2 separate regions of the Homo sapiens genome follow, and region 2 is linked to region 1. Evidence: promoter capture Hi-C in human tissues and cell types (Jung and others, 2019). All regions are on one chromosome and are shown on one strand. The core of a region is centred on a gene start or on the middle of the fragment in contact, and the rest is flanking DNA. Distances in the headings are between cores, read along the strand shown.

The links. The method cuts DNA at HindIII sites, captures the fragments that hold promoters and counts their contacts. A contact is called where the count stands out against the background at its distance.
Region 2: a fragment that was not itself captured here is called in contact with the fragment with the promoter of IQSEC1 in region 1 in 2 of the 25 tissues and cell types used here (dorsolateral prefrontal cortex and spleen).

What each region holds. Positions count from the first base shown.
Region 1 is chr3:13,069,690-13,076,125 of GRCh38, reverse strand. It overlaps IQSEC1 (IQ motif and Sec7 domain ArfGEF 1), which reads left to right and starts at 2,697. Exons shown (of 14, transcript NM_001134382.3): 1 at 2,697-3,134. The coding sequence starts at 3,112. RefSeq lists silencers at 2,322-2,501, 2,622-2,781 and enhancers at 6,125-6,294, 6,305-6,384. The HindIII fragment of the contact is 23,458 bases long and covers 1-6,436 here.
Region 2 is chr3:13,316,392-13,319,584 of GRCh38, reverse strand. It overlaps NUP210 (nucleoporin 210), which reads left to right. Exons shown (of 40, transcript NM_024923.4): 38 at 260-355; 39 at 430-513; 40 at 1,804-3,193. The coding sequence ends at 1,904. Among named protein-coding and RNA genes, the nearest start is that of NUP210, 100 kb to the left of the region's middle. The HindIII fragment of the contact is 8,541 bases long and covers 1-3,193 here.

The sequences.
Region 1 (6,436 bases), core at 1,448-3,947:
CACTCCAGACATCTGGTTACAACTGCGAAAGTGAGGAAAGTGGACAATTCCATCCAGAGTTCTGTAGCTCCACTTCTTATGTGATCAGGACCCTCTCACGACCACAGGCTTTGCATCTGGGAGGTGTGGCTGACAAATCTGCCCTGAGATTGGATGTCGAGGGCTTGGGGTCATGAGGTAGGTGAAGCTCAGCCTGCACAGGTGGGCGCGCCCCTTTTCTGAGACTCTCTGACCTCTCACTGCCTGAAGGGATGAACTTGTGGGTTCCGTAGTCAGAGATCAGAGTCGGAATCCCAGCTCCACGCTTTTTGGAGCCTCCTCTGTGCCTGGTCCGGCGCTGGATATTGAATGTCAGAAATCAAAACCGCGCCAGTGCAGGTGGGTTGTAGGCACTACCCACGTGCCCTGTAAATGATGTTTTGTAAAAGCCTAAAATCTTGGCATTTGTATCTGAATGCCAGGGTCCTTGCCATTTCCTCTGCTTTGAAATAACAGCATAACATGGAAGGAAAAGGAGAGTACGTTTATAAGAAGAAGTGCTGAAGAAGCAACGGATGTGCAGATGCATGTCATGGGCCTCCCAGGGAGCAAAAGAGGAAGCCCAGGAAAGGGACACTGGGTGCTCCACACTCAAGGCATCCAATTCACCACTCTGAGCCTGTTTCCGCCTCTGGAAGATGGAAGTGAGAAGAGAATCGCTAGTTGAGCAAGGCGGCTGAGAGGGGCATTGCTCTAGCCCGAGCCAGGCTGTGAGTTAGTCTGGGCTCTGCTGCTGCCTTGATGGGAGACCCCCGTATGTGGTGCAACCCATCTAAGCAGGAGTGGTAATTATGTTCACTTCGTAGGGCGCTTCTGAGAATTCACTGAGACCATGAAACAACTGGACCTGACACAAAGTGAGCCCTCCTGATGCAGTGGCTGAATTTTGATGTTATTAAAATCTTTTGAAACTCCAGTGAGGAGAGGGGTGGGGTGGGCTCTGCAACATGTTAACCCACAGAAATATGAATTCCTCACATGACTCAGGGAGGGAGGTCCGTGCTACAGGAAGATTGGTCATGCATATGGATTCACCTGGAGAGGGCAGATCGGGAAGCGTCATGCAGTTCTGTTCGATGCCTCACCTTGGCCACCTGAGGCCGCAGCTCCAACCTCTGCTCCCTACCAGGACACTGAGCTGGAAGACTGGGGTCCTAGTCCCACCTCTGCCACTCTTTGCTGTGCAACTTTAGGCAAATCGCTCACCCCCTGAGGTTCATTTCCTCCCCTGTAAAGGATGGAATGGAACTCAAGGATGCAGCATCACTCCTTCTAAATTCGGTGAGTGTGAATCTGGAGAGAATGGAAAGAGGAAGGGAAATGGCCCTGTGGGCTGCCATCCACATCCAGCCGATTCCCAGTCTCAACTACTCCCTCTCTCATTTATTCCTCCCAGTGAGGCAGCTTTCAAGCAGTCAAGAACCAAGACTCTGGAGCCAGACTGCCCGCCAGCTATGTGGCTTGGGCCAGTTGCTGAACCTCTGGCTTTAATGCGCTCCCCCGTGAAGTAGGATGATAGTATTAGGCCTCATTGGGGTTGTCTTGAGGATTACCGTGCACGGAAGAATATTATCTACATGCCTCTGAGATAGGTCTGGGATTCCTGGTTTACAGATGAGGAAGCAGAGAGGATCAGATGAACATCAGACAGGAAGAGAGAAATCTGTGTGGGAAAGGCGGGTGTGGGAGCCGAGGATGGATGTGCGCTTCTCCCCTCCACCTCCCTGTCGCACACTGCACCACGCTGGCCTCCTCTGGGCCAGTCAAATACACCAGGCTGCCTTCCGCCTCAGAGCCTTGACGCCAGCTCCTCCCCTGCTTCTTGCGTCATCCGAGTCTCAGCCACACGTGCCTCACAGAGGGCCTTCCCGACCACCCCGTCTGATGGCAGAAGCCTCCTTCCCGCCTCTCTTGGGGTCCCTGCCTCCCCTCTTCCTGCTCTCTTTTCATCCTGATCCTTATCACCACGTGCAATCCTATATCTGCACACTTACTTCCTGGCTTCCCCTTAGACTGTAAACATCATGAGGGCAGATACTTGCCCGGCACATGGAAGGTCCTCGGGAGAGGAAGAGGCACCATAGCTAGACCAGAAATTCTCCCTAGCCACGTGCAGCCCCCTTTGGGACAGGACTGGCACAAACGAGGACTGCTCTGCCATCCACCGTGCAGCTACTGGCGTGGTGCGCCCTCCTGGAACCCCGTGGTATAGCTGTTATGATCCCTTTCACAGTAGCATAATCAAGACTCCCAGGAGAGACGCGGCTTGCCAAGGTCTCATCGCCCTTCAGTGGCAGAGACAGCCTTGGAGTCGGCCGGCCTCACTCCAGGGCCAGAGCCCCGAGAGCTCCGCGGCTCGCGTGTCTCAGTGCCGAAGGCAGAAAAGCCGCCTTGGAAAGTAGTGTCATCGTAGGCTCCGCGCGGCGCGTGCATTTTAGCAACAGACTTCCAGGTTTCCAGCGCGGGCCAGGAAGGGGCCGGCGCCCCGCGCCCCGCCGGGTGTGTGACTTTGCCGCGAGGGCGCAGCCGAGCGGCCGCGCCTGATGCTGCTGTTGCCATGGCGACCAGCGCCTCGGCGATTGGTCCGGCGCGGCCGCACTACGTTGCTCCTTGGGCGCGGGGGGTGGGGGAGGCTCCGGCGCGCCCGCCCCTTCTCCGGATGCTGCGAGAGCAAACCCGGGGCAGCCTTCTCTCGACCCTCCCCTCCTCATCCCCGCGCCCCGCACCCCGGATGGACGGGAGGGAAAAACCCCAAGGTGGGCCCAGGTAGCAGCGAGGTGGACGCCCCCGCCCAGCCTGGCGACCACGGTTACTCGACGTCCTCGCTCGCTCCTGGGCACGGTGTGAGCGCGCGCTACGTGCCAGGGCCCTCCACAGCCCGCTGCTGGCGCCGCCCCCCGCTCCCGCCCCAGCCTCCCTGGAGGAGCCCGCCACCCCCGGGAATGTGACTCGCCCCGCGATTTAATTTTATTCCCCTCCACTTCTTGCCTGAGCCGCCTGCTCCTCTTGGAAACACGTTGAGCCTCCCCGCTGGAGAGGGAGCCAGAACAGGGAAGAACGGATTCACACAGGATGGCTTGCAGAAGACGCTATTTGTGAGTATATGTGGCAGGTTTCTGCCTGAAGCCAGAGGCCAGAGGGGCCCGGCTGAGCTGGGAGCTGGAGTGAGGGGCATCGTTGGGGGAGGGGCAGGTGGATGTGCAGGTGACTTGCAGAGGGAGCTGGCCACCCAGCAGGGATGCCGGCGCTCGGCCCCTGCAGCGGAGGTGTTTGTTGGTGATGACGATGAGAAAAAGGCTATTAGTCAGCAGGTCTTCAGCAGGCTGTGAAATTCCCAACTGTGAGAGCAGGTATCCCCCCTCCCAGATCCACATTCAGGGTGCCCAGACCGGCTCCTACTGTTTTGGCTTTGGTTTAGCCCATAGCCTGTTTAGGAAGAGAATCTCTGCCCAGCACGCCCATGGCCAGCCCTTCAGCCATGCCTGATAGAAGGTCGCAGGCAGGCTGAGGCAGTGGCCAGGATGCTGCGTCCTCCAAGGGCAGGTGAAGGTCCAGCCCACCGTCCCTAGCACGGAGGCATCAGTGTCCAGCTGTGTGCCCAGGTGTTCTGTGGGCTGGCAGCAGAGCGGCTGTGTGCTGGGCCTCACGCCAGCAGCAGAGGCTGTGAAAGTCTGCACGGGGCGGTGACATCACGGGCCCGGGTATTTATGGAAACCAAAGCCTGCGCTTCGGTTAGCCAGGCTTCCCAGGGGGCAGTGGGGTTCGAATGCCAGCTTCCCTCACAGCTCTCTGGGCGCTGCACTGTGCTGTTCTAGGAGGAGCAACCTTTGCCCTCCTCTGGGACCCTCGGCTGCGGGGGTTGAGGCCCAGCGTCAGGTCTCCACCTGCCTAAACTATTTGCCCAGGACCCACTCATTTGGGGCTGTGCAGTGACCTCAGACCTTAGGAGGTTAGAGAGCATGGCTGAGTCCTCTTGAGCTGGGCTCAGTCGCAAGGCTAGGAAAAGGAGGCCTGGAGCAGTATGTGGGGAGCCTTCTGGGGGCTACCCCAAGGCCTCCCTAATCGATGGAGGCCCCTTACCATGGCAGGGGCCTGTGGAACCCCTGATAGAGTGGCAGCTCCCCGTCACCTCCACTGAGGGAAAGTAAACACACCTCTGCCTCTGCTGCGTCAGCAGTGCCAGGCGGCAACCCACGGGGGATGGCGGTGGCCTCTGGTTCGGGGGATGGCGGTGGCCTCTGGTTTGGGGGATGGCAGTGGCCTCTGGTTTGGGGGATGGCAGTGGCCTCTGGTTCAGGGAATGGCAGTGGCCTCTGGTTCGGGGGATGGCGGCCTCTGGTTTGGGGGATGGCGGTGGCCTCTGGTTCGAGGGATGACGGTGGCCTCTGGTTCGCTGTGATGCTCACTTGCTTTTTTAGTGGAGAAGCTCACAGGTTGGTTTGTCGATGCGAGCAGAGCACACCAAAGTTCTCACTCCCTGTGGCAAGGCCCTCGCTGCATTTTCTGAAACAAATAGTAAATCCTTTCCCAGCGTGGAACTTCCACCCCAGTGGCTGGGAATAGGTCCTCCTGAGACAGCTGTCTCCTCCCTGCCACACCTTTGCCTGGGCCCAGGAGCCTGATGCCAGAGAAATTCTAAACTCTCAGGGCTGTTACATCGGGGAGGGGAGATGTCATGAGGATGAAATGTGACAATTCATATTCAGATTACTTGGCCCAGTGCCTGCTTGCCTCCAATGCTCAGAAATGTCATCCTCACAAAGGCCTTGTCTGGGCAGGCACTAAGAACCCCATTTTAGAGATGGGGAAACTGAGGCTCAGCACAGTTCTACTGGAACCCTGGAGTATACTAGCCTGGGGTGGGGGTTGTAGCCCAGGAGCTATACTGGAATCACTTGAGGAGCAGTTAAAGAAACAAACAAAAAAAAAAAAACAAAAAAAAACTGTGTGGGTCCCACCCCCAGACATTCTGGTTTCTAGGTTTGGGGGAGGGCTCAAGCCTCAGGATCTTTTTCATTTTCCGGATGATTTTAATGTCCAGGTGTGGTTGATGTTCCCGTGATGCAGCTATTCACTGTGGCTGCGTTGCCCAAGCCTATCCAATTGCAGTTTTGCAGGGACAATGTTCTATATGGATTCCAATACTCTTCCCTGGAGAGTCTGCTTCAATCTGTTGGGGGCCCAGCCACCTGCATTTGAACACGTGGCTCTGGTGGATTTGCTGATTCCTGGAATAAGCTCGTCTAGCCTTCCTGCCTAAGAGAGGGGCTGGCCCGAGGGGGCTTAGCGCTCACTGTCTTTCTTTTCTGTGGGTCTTTTCACTCTTCTCCAGCTCTCAGGCTCCCAGTCTGAGCATTGTGACTCCCAGGCCATCCCCGCTCTGCCACCAAACCTATTGGCACCAGAAATACCAAAGATACTTGGAGGGGGTGGCTCTGTTTGTACGCAAGGATCTTGTAACCAAGAGCAGGCCTTTCCTGAGGTTACCCTGCTGCACTTGATAAGCCTGTGTTTGCCCACCATTACTCCCCACCCAGAACCCGCGGCAGGCCCACTTCTAGGCCCAGGCTCTCCCAGCACCTGCTGCTCAGACCTTATTGTTACCCTGCCTTTCAGTGTGGAAAGGAGATGGGGTGTTGAGCATCTCTAGATGTTTAACTTTCCCAACAGTTGCACTGTAGCCACTATCAGAGCTGCCCAACTTGATTGCAAAGCGTTCTCATGCTTAGTTGCCTCATGGGGTCTCACCAACTGCTGTAAAATGTGATACTGTCGATCCCGTTTTACAGAAGAGGAAACTGAGGCTCAGAGAGGGGAAGGAACTTGACTGGGGTCACACAGCTGTTTCCTGCCGTACATTTGGCAGTGGTGTCCCTTCCCCAGCATGCCACATGTCAAATCGGGACAGACTTGCTCCAGCGGCCCTGTGCATGGCACAGCCAGGCTATCCTCAGCCTAGTGGAGCCCTGCCGGCGGGCCCCCACCCCCACCCCACTGTCCTCACTCCCTAGCCTCCATTTTCGCCACTTCCACTCTCTGGGCCCCTGGTGTGCACCCAAGGGAGCTTTATGGAATCGAGACTCTGTCCCGGTCAGGGCTCAGTCCATCGTGAAGGTGGCACACTGGATGGGATAAAGGATGACAACAAAAGCAGGAGAAGATTTCTTAACCCAATGGGGGAACATCAGGAGGCTTCCAAGAATCAGACCCTGAATCAAACTTGCTAACACCTGAGGTCATTGCTGTACTGGCAGCTTCATGAATGGTGTCTGAATGAAGGATGGCCCTCAATTCTGTAACTACAGCATCCTTTTCATCATCTCTGCAAGGGGCCCCTCTGTCCTCATGGGCATGTCACATCCTGTCACTTGAACACAGGAAGTGAGGCTGTGAGGAG
Region 2 (3,193 bases), core at 694-3,193, 240 kb before region 1:
TCCCATCTGTTCTCAACATGGCAGCCACAGGGGCTGTGCCCCTCTGCTCAGCAGCCTGCGCCAGGAGAAGAAGTGCCAGGGTACCAAGAACAGCTGTGGGCCCGGGCCTCCAGCAGGTGGCCTGGCCCTCTGAGACCACCATCCTTACATCTAAGAGGGACCTGTGGACTGCCCTGTAGACGTACAGTAGGGCAGGAACGTGATGGGATGCCACAGTGGGCCTGGTGGTTTTGGTAACTCATCTTCCCATTGATGGCAGATGGAGCCAGCCTCTTCCAGCACTTCCTGGATTCCTACCAGGTCATGTTCTTCACGCTCTTCGCCCTGTTGGCTGGGACAGCGGTCATGATCATAGGTGAGGAGGCTGCCTGTATCTCTGGGTCTGTTCCCCTGCCCCGACCTGCTCTAACCAACCCTGTGCTCTTGCAGCCTACCACACTGTCTGCACGCCCCGGGATCTTGCTGTGCCTGCAGCCCTCACGCCTCGAGCCAGCCCTGGACACAGCCCCCACTGTGAGTAGCCCCCCTGCAGGCACAACCAGGCAGAGCTGCTGAGAAAGAGAAGAGCCCTGGGGGAGGGGTCGAGGCTCCTGAACCCTAAGTCTCAACAGGCCCTTGCCTGGGCCAAAGGAGCCTGAGGCCCAGAGGACAGATGTGGGAGCCAGGAGGGTCGGGGCAGAGGGGCTGCCAGTCCTGGTTCAGCAAGAGCTTTCCCCAGGTAGAGCCATGCTGGGTGGAGGTATGGGCAGCAAGGAGCTCTGTCTAGGCAGGAGTGCATGCTAGGACTGGATGCCCAATTGCTGAGGCTGCCTCAGAAGGCTCTAAGCTGGGGTTGGACGAGCTGACTCACAGATGGGGATTCTGGGTAGTTCTGATGAGAAATTTCCCAGAAGAATGGGCAAAGTCATTTATTTCAATGGTCTAACTGTCTCTCTGGTGACCCCGAAGCCCTGGTGACCCTGCACAGCTCCAGGGAGCACCTCACTGTGTGAATGTAGTTTCTCTCTCAAACAATGCAGTGCCCAGCCTGTACTGCTGTACGTGAAGGCCCTTTAATGTCTCCTGATTCCCATTTGAGGGTTCTCTCCCCTACACAAAGAGTCCTCGAGCTCGTGTCTGCTGACATGGGGGCCCATGGACCGGCTTCAGGGGGGTCCCTGAATTTTTTTGAAAGAAGACCCAGTTGTGTGGGTAGAAGCACTTTCCTGGGTAAGGAGAGCCCACACGCCCTTGTCTTCTGCCTGACGACTTCTCTACCTGCAAAGCGGCACCCAGGGGAGGCCACGGGTGCTCGGCCTCCTCGCGGCTCTGCTGCCTTCTGCAGCTGCTCTGGCAGCAGGTGCCTGCCCTTTCTAGCTGCCTCTCTCAGCGTGCTCCTCCCTGGGTTTTGGGAGCCACACCTGGATCTCTGCAAGGTCTCCGGAGCACTGCAGAATCGCTGCTCCCCTCGGGGTCTTTGTTCCTGTGGCGCTCTTGCCCGAGGCTGCATTGCATTCAGATGCACGGGGCCTCCCTGCCTCATGCCCCCTGGACAGATGCTGCTGTGGTCCTGAAACTTGAGACACGTTCTCCCCGGAAGGCTCTGCGCTCCTGGGTGTTAGGGTGGCATCCCAGGCCTCTCTGTGTGAATGAGGCCAGCTCAGCAGGTGCCCGTGGACTTCCCTCTGCTGGCCGGGGAGGCCTCGGGGCATCACTGTGAGAGTGTCCTGGGTGAGGCAGGCGCCTGCTGAATGCTGGCTGTAACTGAAGAGTGCGCCGCTTTCCCTGGCTCTGCTGCTAACATCGTCTCTCTTCCCACCCTAGATTTCGCTGCCTCATCACCCACATCTCCCAATGCATTGCCTCCTGCTCGCAAAGCCAGCCCTCCCTCAGGGCTGTGGAGCCCAGCCTATGCCTCCCACTAGGCCGCGTGAAGGTTCCCGGAGGATGGGTCTCAGCCGAGCCTCGTGCACCCCCAAGATGGAACATCCCTGCTGCATTCACACTGGAACAAGCCCCTCCAGATGAGTGCCCCGGCCCCAGGCCAGCTTCACTGCCGTCTCTTCACACAGAGCTGTAGTTTCGGCTCTGCCCATTAGCTCATTTTATGTAGGAGTTTTAAATGTGTGTTTTTTTCCTTTCAAGTCTTACAAAGCTAAGACTTTTTGGCTCATTCCTTTTTGCATGGTTGTCTAGGGTTTCTGGACAATGTGCTGTTGCATTTTTATTTTCCTAGCCTTGCTAAAATCTTTCCCTTCTCAAGACTTTGAGCAGTTAGAAGTGCTCTTTAGAAGTTGTCTGTGGGTGATGTTACTGTAGTGGTCTCAGGGAAAGGATTGTCCAGTTACTTTAGGGGGTTTTTGGTGGGGTTTTTCCCCCTGTGAAAACTTACTTTGCCCCTAGTCTGGCTGCTGCTAGGACTTCTGAGGAGCAATGGGACATGAGTGTCCCTGTATCTGCGCCACTGCCGCAAGGGAAGCCTCAGGAACCAGCACCTGGAGGCCAGGATAGCCAAGCCCTGGGTGAGCGAGAGGCTGGAGAACACAGGAGCTCACCCAGGGCTGCTGCCCAACCATGGGCCACTGTGAACAGACTTCAGTCCTCTGTTTTTGTTTCATAAGCCGTTGAGACATCTGATGGACTTGGCTTAGGCCCTGCTGGGACATCCCACGTGTGATCCCTTTCACTCCATCAGGACACCAGGACTGTCCTTAGGAAAATGTCCTTGAGATGGCAGCAGGAGTCATATTTTCTGTGTGTGTGTTTCGGAAAGCCGCTGTGTCCTGCCTCAGCACAAAGACCCAGTGTCATTTGCTCCTCCTGTTCCTGTGCCACTCCAGAACCTCAGCAGATCTGAGCCACCGCCTGCCAGTGTGAGAGGCGGCCACTTTCATGGCAGCTCATCAGGCGCAGGGCCCCAGACAGCTTCCCAGCAGGCCCTAGAGCCCGGCCTGGGCCAATGATGGAGGGCGGCCGCCAGCCCAGGGCCTGCCCATCCAGAAGGGACTCCCCAGGGCCTGGGGGAGGAGACCCTTGGAAAAGTCCTCTCTTCCCAGCTCCTGATTCTGGATCTGAGATTCTCAGATCACAGGCCCCTGTGCTCCAGGCCGAGGCTGGGCTACCCTCAGGGAGATCCAGAGACTCATGCCCATGGCCATCCATGCGTGGACGCTGTGTGGAGAGTCCAGGATGACGGGATCCCGCACAAGCTCCC